Linked DNA regions of Homo sapiens: regions 1 and 3 are each linked to region 2. Evidence: promoter capture Hi-C in human tissues and cell types (Jung and others, 2019). All regions are on one chromosome and are shown on one strand. The core of a region is centred on a gene start or on the middle of the fragment in contact, and the rest is flanking DNA. Distances in the headings are between cores, read along the strand shown. Region 1 overlaps FBXW4 (F-box and WD repeat domain containing 4). Region 2 holds the start of NPM3 (nucleophosmin/nucleoplasmin 3). Region 3 overlaps FBXW4 (F-box and WD repeat domain containing 4).

Region 1 (2,941 bases), core at 373-2,872, 160 kb after region 2:
GCTCTGCCTCCTGAGTTCACGCCATTCTCCTGCCTCAGACTCCCAAGTAGCTGGGACTACAGGTACCTGCCACCACACCTGGCTAATTTTTTGTATCTTTTAGTAGAGACAGGATTTCACTGTGTTAGCCAGGATGGTCTCGATCTCCTGACCTCGTGATCAGCCTGCCTCGGCCTCCCAAAGTGCTGGGATTACAGGCGTGAGCCACCGCACCCGGCTGCTTGTCTTTTTATCCTCTTAACAGGGTCTTTTGAAGAGCAAATGTTTAAAATTTTGATGGAATCTAAATTATTGACTTTTTCTTTTATTGACTGTGCCTTTGGTGTCAAGTCTAAGAACTCTTCACCTTGCCCTAGGCCCCACATGTGGTCTGTGTCTTAAATGCCACATTTGACAGCACTGGCGAAGATGCTCTTCTCACCTGCTTCCTCAGTTGCTGTAGCTTTGTCTTCTCCATTTTTCTCCATCTCTGTAGGAAAGCATTAGCCATAGCTTTTTTTTTTTTTTTTGAAAAATCCATTCTATAGTCAGTCTTTTCAAAATTTTTAAAACAACATGAGATGTTTTAATCAATGAATCATGGTTTTTTTCCTTCAACATTCTCTTTTGATAGTCATCCAAGAACAGGGATGGGAAACTCCCTACTTCCCCAAACAACCATTCCGTCTTTTGGTAGCTCTGTGAGTGAGAATGCCCACCCTTTATCATGGATTGATTTGCTCCCTGAAGCTGTGATCCTAGACAAGAGACAAGCAAGTTGAACCTCTCTCCTGAAGAACAGACTTTTAAATATCTGAAAACCTTGGTTCTGCTCTTCCAGGGCCTCCTCTTCTTCAGGCCAAAAGTTCTAGGTCCTTCAGTTGTTTCTCATTAACATAGTAGATAAGTTAGCCATAACTTATCTGTGCCTCTTGCTGTGATCTGGGGCCCTCTGAGCTTCAGTTTCCTCATTTGTAAAGTGGAAATTAATTATCCCTACCTAACAGAACTGGTATGAACAAAATTATCGTGAAAGAGTTTCCCATACAGTGCCTGTCACCTTGGAGGCATTCAACTAATGCAAGCTGTCTCTTTCCTGCTCTTCCTTCCCACCCAAACTAGTACCTCGGAGTTTGTGGAAGCTTCTTTTTTTCTTGAGAGACAGGGACTTGCTCTGTCACCCAGGCTGGAGTGCAGTGGCATCATCACGGCTCACCGCAGCCTTGAACTCCTGGGCTCAAATGGTCCTTCTGCCTCAGCCTCCCAAGTAGTTAGGACTATAGACATGCCCCACCATGCTTGGCTAACTTTTAAATTTTTTTGTAGAGACAAGGTCTCGCTATGTTGCCCAGGCTGGTCTCGAACTCGTTGGCTCAAGTGATCCTCCCACCTTGGCCTCCCAAAGTTGTGGGATTATAGGTGTAAGCCATTGTGCCTGGCTTGTGGAGGCTTTTAATTCTTAAAATATCCGTGTCTTAGTGACTAGTGGAGGCGGAGGTGAACCTGCTGAACTCCTGGCACAGGGAAGGCTCTTGACAATGGGCTGTGGGTCACAAAGATGGGCATTCTGATGAAAGTTTTTACTTGGTTACATAGCTGGGCCTTGTGTTTGGCATCATCACCTGCCTGGGCCCAGGATGACACACAAGCCGGGTGGCGGGCTGGGTACACCACTGTGACCCAGCATCATCTCAAATGTTGGGTAATCTTTGAATGGCCTCTTCTGCCTATGGTTGCCTTGGTGAAGGGTACTCTTCGGTACAGATTTATGGTCAGGATGGAGTTCTAAGGCACCATTTATTTGACTGTTATTCTCTTATGAAACCCCTAGATCTCATTAACCCCAAACACTGGGTCTTTATTGAAACCAGAATGGACTCTAATGAGAATAGGTATGAGACAGTGATTAGCCAGGCATGGTGGCTCATGCCTGGAATCCGAGCACTTTGAGAGACTGAGGCAGTAGGATCGCTTGAGCTCAGGAGTTTGAGAGTAGCCTGGGCAATATGGTGAGACCTTGTTTCTTATCAAAAAAAAATTAAAAACAGAACAAAACAAACAACTATGGCCTCAGTTCTTCCTGGAGCCTGAGAAGAAACAGCCCTGCCCGCTCTGGCCAGCCTGTGGGCTCTGCTGCTTGTGGCAGGGTTGCCCTGGGCACCACTTGGCAGTGCCTTCTCTCCAGCCCCAGGTTCATCCACTGGGAGGAACCAGGCTTTGTTTAAACATCTGTCCTGTCCCCAGAGAAGCTTGGAGGACCAAGTGGTACAGCGATTGAGGAAAGATGCCCTGGTGGAGGCATTTGCTTTTGGTGGGAGGAAATGGATGGACAGGATGACTCTCTAGAGCTGTCTTTCCCAGAGAAGCCCAAGTAGATAATAAAGCCATGTAGAAAATAGGATTAAGGTAATGAACAGGCAGGACAAAGTTTGATCTTTCAGTAACACCAAAGCCTGACTGACAGGCCAATCCGAGAGGTGGAGCAGCATTGCCGGCAGGACTTGGGGTTGGGCGGTGAGCGGTGCTGGATGGATTCTTTGCTTTTAACCTGTCACTGCTGCAACTTGAGGAGCGCCTGGATTTTCTCTTTTATGTATGTGCTGGGGCTTGGGCAGAGAGCGGGGAGTACTGGAGGGGCAGTTTGCCCTAAGCATTGCTATACCCTGGATGATGGTGGGGGCTGGGACACATTCAAAGCTGTAGCCACCCACTGGGCACCAGCGCTCCCATCAGGGGAGCCATCACCCACGTCTATGTGTGTCTCTCAGCTACTCACCCTCAGACAGCCAATGCTGCTTCTCACAGAACCTGGACCCCTTTCAGGGTCACCATTGTTCCCTCAGCCCCTCATTCCATCAAGACCACTAGAGACTGTTCTCCTTGCAGGCTGGGCTGGAACAGGGATGGAGGGGCAGTTGCTAGCTGGAGCACACAGGTCAGAAGGCAGCCACAGGCACACAGC
Region 2 (3,217 bases), core at 179-2,678:
TTGTAAAGCTGGAACCAAGTTTGCATTTTTGAGGGCTTGAGATGAAGGGAAGACTCTTACCAGATAGTAAGACAGCTGAGTTTTCCTCAGTTTTCTCGTCTTAACACTAGTGGACAATTCTAGCATTTTGTTTGGAGGATTTCAGAGTTAACCTCATGGAATTCAGGATTTTTTAGCAAGTTTGCTTTTGGTTTTATCTTGGCTTTTAGTAATCATGTTGGCTGGTCTGGTCACAGGTGACTGTGAAACAGATGCCCTGGTCTTGCTTTCATCACTCTAGGATCATGAAGTGCTATGCTATTTCCTGGTTATGAATATTAAGGTTGGAATTACATTTTTATTGATTGTTTGGATCAGAGCTCAGTTCCTGTAGAAAACGAACTGTAAAAGACCATGCAAGAGGCAAAATAAAACTTGAAGTGAATGCTTGTCGTGTTGTATTGTGTGAATCTATTTCCTGTCTGCCCCCTCCCTTTTCTCCTCTTTCATGCCTCACCTACAAGCAGGTATTCTCTCCTCTCCACAGCTGTTCCAAGTTAGAGATTGGATCTTGAAGGCAGCCCTCCCCTACCTCCATCACCAGTAAGACTTCCAGATTTTCATTAAGACAAGAGCTAAGAAAAGTAGACTAGTTTTTAGCCAAGCCACCCCACCCTCTTGCCACAGTTATAACCTGGATGTGAAATAGGGCCTCTAGTTTGAGTTTTGCCATCTATTAGGATAGAAAGCACACAGTTTGCCTGATTCTTAAAAGGCGAAAGATGGCGCGAGTAGCATAAACTGACAAAATAATCCACGGCGCAAAGATACTCCTGGATGATTTGGAATTAAAAGCTCAAAAAGCGTGGGTGGGCCAGGAACAGCCAACACACATGAGCTAACTAGTCCTCTGCTAGCAAGTGCCAGCAGCTAAGTCTCAGTGAAGGCATAGCAAGTTGCGGGGTCTTTAGAGCAGGAAGAATTAAGAGAGGCTTAGCCGAGAGGACAGACAGGACAGACGTGTTGGGATGGAAATTCCTAAGGCTCCTCGGCTCTCTTGAGGCAAAGACAATCTGAGTGCATTTCCTTTGCTTGTAGCAGAAAAGCACTGCCCTGAACCCCACCTTTGCTGGGAGGAGTAAGAAGGGTTTACATTTTTATATCTATAACTCCTTTAACGAAAGCTTACCCTGGGTTGGAAGAGTGGGAGACACTCTTCCGACACAGAGCGAGGAGCTTGGGGAAGTGGACACCCTCATGGTCGTGGAAATGAGCAAGGATGTTAACATAAACCCCAAATCCATTCTTCTGTGATGTTACTTCCTTTCTCTTCGGTCTTGATAAAATATGAGCAGAAGCTGCGGGCTCCGGGTAGGGCTGCGGGGTCTCGGCGCCTTTTCTTTTCCAGGACTGTGCGTCTCCTTTAATGGGCGGGGCCGGAACTGGCCGAGGGTCCCCGGCTTTGTGCGTGTCGGGGGCGGAGTTTGAAGAAGGCTCTTACAGCATGGCCGCCGGTACTGCAGCTGCCTTAGCGTTTTTGAGTCAGGAGAGCCGAACGCGGGCCGGGGGTGTCGGGGGCCTACGGGTCCCGGCCCCGGTCACTATGGACAGTTTTTTCTTCGGTATTAGTGAAGGGAGAGGCTGAGGGTGGTACTGGGGCGGTAAGAGGTAGGGATGTGAGGCGGGAATGCGGAGGGTTTCAAGGCGTGGGTGTGGGCGGAGGGCTGCTTCGCTGTTCCCGCAGGAGAGGGGGCCTCGCACGCACAGCCAAAGGGGGTGGCGAGATCCCTGCCCCAGATGTGTTGGGCGGGGCCCACGGCAGAGCGTCCCAGGTGTTCTGAGAGAAGAGACGGAGGTGGACGTGTAAATGACCCGTCCGCCCAAGGTTACACGTGACGGCGGGTTGGTGACATCCCCCGCTGCCCAGCCCCGTACACACGCTCAGGCATACTCACTGTTATTTCTACCAGGCTGTGAGCTCTCCGGCCACACCCGCTCCTTCACCTTTAAGGTAGAGGAAGAGGATGATGCGGAGCACGTGCTGGCACTAACCATGGTGAGGGGCAGGGGAGTGGGGTTTTAATGAATAAGCCCAGGCAGGCAATATAGGTCTCTACCCAACCTCCGGATCCCCTTTACTTGGAGACACATCCTCAGCCTAACCCCCCGGCATGGGCGGCTCCCCTGGCCAGGTGAACCGGGACCTCTGAGGCTGGGCAGGTGCTAGGGTAGATGCCTTTAGTTGTGGTGTCAACCCTCACTTGAGGAGACCCTGAGGCCCTGTGTACCGTTCCCAGCTCTGCCTCACCGAGGGAGCCAAAGACGAGTGTAATGTGGTAGAAGTTGTGGCCCGGAACCATGACCATCAGGAGATCGCAGTCCCTGTGGCCAACCTCAAGCTGTCCTGCCAACCCATGGTGAGTTCCCCAGCTCTGCCTTGGTGGTGGTGGTGGTGGTGGTGAGGGGATTGAGGACGTTAGCACTCATTACAGTGTGGGGTGGGCTAGGAGTGGGCCAGGCCTTCATCCTTGTCTTCCTCCCAGCTCAGTCTGGATGACTTCCAGCTCCAACCACCTGTAACCTTCCGCCTGAAGTCGGGCTCTGGCCCTGTGCGGATCACTGGGCGGCACCAGATTGGTGAGAAGAGGGGAGGGCCCTCTCCTTTGCTTCCAGTGGACTCTCCCATCAGGCTTCCCCCACTCCGCACTCCTGCCCCATCCCACCCTCATCTCCCAGTGCAGCCCTGTACAGGTCTGTGTGCCCTCCACGCTGTGCCCTGTGCATGACATGCCCTCTCCTTTCCGTCTACTCAAGCCTACCTCCTCCATGGAACATGGCCCAACTTCTCCAGCTCCAATAATGAAGACTCCTTTGGCTCTTTGTGACCCAGTTTAGGGTCTGAGGTTCTTCCCACCTAGCCCATAAGCACTGGGAGGTCATGGTCCCTGTAAGCCTAACACCACGGCGTGAAGAAATGGCATGCGGTGTGAAACGGTCTGGTCTTAACACCCCATCCTTCTACTGCTTGTGTGTCCACCAGTTACGATGAGCAATGATGTTTCTGAGGAGGAGAGCGAGGAAGAGGAAGAGGACAGTGATGAGGAAGAAGTTGAGCTGTGCCCCATCCTTCCTGCCAAAAAGCAGGGGGGCAGGCCCTAGCCCTCCTAGGTGAGTTGCGGGGAGAAGTGCCTAGCAGGCTCTGGGAAGGGGCAGGAGAAGCAGGTGAGGGCCTAAATGC
Region 3 (2,819 bases), core at 10-2,509, 140 kb after region 2:
GCCTGTAATCCCAGCACTTTGGGAGGCCGAGGTGGGTGGATCACCTGAGGTCAGGAGTTCGACACCAGCCTGGCCAACATGGTGAAACCCCATCTCTACTAAAAATACAAAAATTAGCTGGGTGTGGTGGCGGGTGCCAGTAATCCCAGCTACTCGGGAGGCTGAGGCAGAAGAATTGCTTGAACCTGGGAGGTGGAGGTTGCAGTGAGCCAAGATCACACCATTGTACTCCAGCCTGAGCGACAGAGTGAGACTTGGTCTCAAAAAAGGCGGGGGTGGGGGAAGGAAGAGTCTAGGTTGGGCAGGGTGGCTCATACCTGTAATCCCAACACTTTGGGAGGCCGAGGCAGGTGGATCACTTGAGGCCAGGAGCGTGAGACCAGCCAGGAGTTTGAGACCATTTGAGACCAATACAGCAAAACCCAATCTCTACTTAAAAAAAAAAAAAAAAATTAGCTGGGGATGGTAGCACATGCCTGTAATCCCATCTATTTGGGAGGCTAAGACACAAGAATCGCTTGAACCCAGGAAGCAGAGGTTGCAGTGAGCCAAGATCATGCCACTGCACTCCAGCCTGGGCAACAGAGTGAGACTCTCTCTCTCAAAAAAAAAAAAAAAAAAAAAAAGAGAAAGAAAGAAAGAAAAGAAAAGAAAATGGAAGGGTTTGAGAGTAAACCAAACTCTGCCCCATTAGAATGAGTCATGTGGTTTCCAGTAGAACATTCAGTCTCATCAGTCCATAAAAAGGGATTCAAGGGACCAAATCTCTGAAGATCAGGGCCTTGTCCCTTGAAGACTAGACTCCCATCCCTCAAGCAGCATCCTTGTTATTTTCTGTTGTCCAGACCATCTCCTCACCCCCTACTGGGAGTGGGCAGGTAGATTTTTCCTGGCACTGTTCTTAGGCATTGGTATAAGAGAACACCTCATCTCCTTTCTGAAGTTCCAGGCCAGCCTGTGTGGTTCTGTTTCATCTGCTCTCCTAGAAGACCTACCAGGTATTAATTTTGTGGTTGAAGTATCTTCTTAGGCCCCAAGGTGTCCAGTAGAGGCCTGGCAAAGCCCTTTGCTCATCTCTCAGTGAGGACATTCAGTTGGGTGAGAAGCCGAGCAGTTACTGAACAGAGGCTCTATATTACTCAGGACACATTTATTGTAAGTGACAGAAACCAAATTCAAATTCACATAAATAAAACAGAATATTTGGCTCATGAAATCCAAGGGAAAAGGTGAAAAACCAAGCCAAAGGCAGAACTGAAATACACCCTTGGGACTAGCTGAACCAGAGGCCATAGTGCTGCCATGGCTTTATCCTTCTGGGGTGCTCATCTCTTTCTTTATGGTTCTTAGCTCCTTCCTTTCTCCAAGCTGACCAGCTTATTCCATGAGGCTGCCAAGTGCTCCTGAGTTTGGCAGCTCATGGCTTAAATCAGAGAGAGTGACTGGCTTCCAAAAATCCCAGGCCAGTTTTGGGTCAGCTGCGCATCTCTTGATTAATTAACTGTGGCCAGGGAGGGAAAGTCATGTAAGAACATGGTGGATCTCTCAGGAATCACATATATGGAGGGAGAATGTGGGCACACAGAACAATAGGTGTCTACTAGTTGGATAAAGGCCAAATGACTCCATGATGTCCAGTCCCAAAGTGTCTATGTGAATGGTGACTGAGCTCAGAGACCTTGGCTACCAACTCTTAAACAAAGTGAAGAGTCTGATAGGAACTGTTGTACAGCCTTTGACCTCCTCCCCCTCACATTATTACTAGTCAGCAAATAAGGATTCCTCCTTTGTAAGCTGTTGATGGTGTCCTTAGCAAAACCCGCCATATTCTAATGTGACATGCACAGAGAAAGAACCTGGTTGCAGACACCTGAGGTTGTATGAATGAGCAGTGGCCTAGCACCCTCCCTGAGGGGCAGAGAGAGACTGGAACCAAGTCCTGGGATGGCACAGGTCTGGCCTGCCCAGGCTTCCTCCAAAGGAAAATGATTAGCAAGCTGCATGATTTGGGATTAAACTGCAGGGAGTTGACACGTGCACCAGGGCTTGCTGCTGGCACTCCTCTACAAATGGAGCACTCCTTTCTTGTGAGGGATAGGCTTTACCTATTGTGTACATAGATACAGTAGCTCTTATTGTCATGGATCCTACTTCTGTAGTCCTACTGTGTATAATTCATGACGCATAGCATCTCTTTACAAACAGAGTGGTTATGAAGCAGAAGTTTGGGGGAAAGCACTGTCAGAGCTGCCGGAAAACTGGAATTCTCATAGGCAGCTGTTCCCAGGCTTTCACCACTCAGAAAGCCATCGAGGTAAAGGGTCTCTGTCAAGTCCCGGATGGAGCCAAGATATCATGTGGTTTGTGCAATAATCAGAATCACATTTAATTCAGTGTGCTACTAATATGCAACACATCTTTCAGGTAACTTCAAAATGAGTATTTTGATTACCATTCTTTTAATTTCTTAATTTCTGTTTTGTTGTTTTATACATAAGTGATACATAAATATGTTCTAATTGTAAAAATTCAAACAATTTAAAATATATAGAATAGAAAGGAAAAATCTCCTTCAGTGACCTGTGTCCCCTCCCGTTATCCTACTCTTTTTTTTTTTTTTTTGCAGGACATCCAGTATGTGTCATTCCAGATCTTTTCATTTGAAGCAAATAGCAGATATCATATAGTTTCATCAATATGTGTACATATATAGATATATGGTTCTGCTTTGTTTTAGGCTCACATTATACATTTGTTCTGCAGCTTGAATTTCTCATCTCCCTACGAGGCTTGGAGGTCCTTTCATGTCAGAGCACCCC

The links. Contacts are between HindIII fragments. The study calls those that stand out against the background at their distance.
Region 1: a fragment that was not itself captured here is called in contact with the fragment with the promoter of NPM3 in region 2 in 3 of the 25 tissues and cell types used here (H1 embryonic stem cells, lymphoblastoid cells and neural progenitor cells).
Region 3: a fragment that was not itself captured here is called in contact with the fragment with the promoter of NPM3 in region 2 in 3 of the 25 tissues and cell types used here (mesenchymal stem cells, mesendoderm cells and thymus).

The regions. Positions count from the first base shown.
Region 1 is chr10:101,619,724-101,622,664 of GRCh38, reverse strand. All of the region lies in intron 6 of FBXW4 (F-box and WD repeat domain containing 4), which reads left to right. Among named protein-coding and RNA genes, the nearest start is that of MIR3158-2, 20 kb to the right of the region's middle. RefSeq lists an enhancer at 2,724-2,941. The HindIII fragment of the contact is 4,149 bases long and covers 1-2,941 here.
Region 2 is chr10:101,781,657-101,784,873 of GRCh38, reverse strand. It overlaps NPM3 (nucleophosmin/nucleoplasmin 3), which reads left to right and starts at 1,428. Exons shown (of 6, transcript NM_006993.3): 1 at 1,428-1,601; 2 at 1,950-2,035; 3 at 2,277-2,396; 4 at 2,523-2,616; 5 at 3,020-3,147. The coding sequence starts at 1,484. The coding sequence ends at 3,138. OGA (O-GlcNAcase) reads left to right here. Exons shown (of 16, transcript NM_012215.5): 16 at 1-424. RefSeq lists an enhancer at 1,861-2,500. The HindIII fragment of the contact is 4,177 bases long and covers 391-3,217 here.
Region 3 is chr10:101,638,292-101,641,110 of GRCh38, reverse strand. All of the region lies in intron 5 of FBXW4 (F-box and WD repeat domain containing 4), which reads left to right. Among named protein-coding and RNA genes, the nearest start is that of MIR3158-2, 38 kb to the right of the region's middle. The HindIII fragment of the contact is 6,712 bases long and covers 1-2,819 here.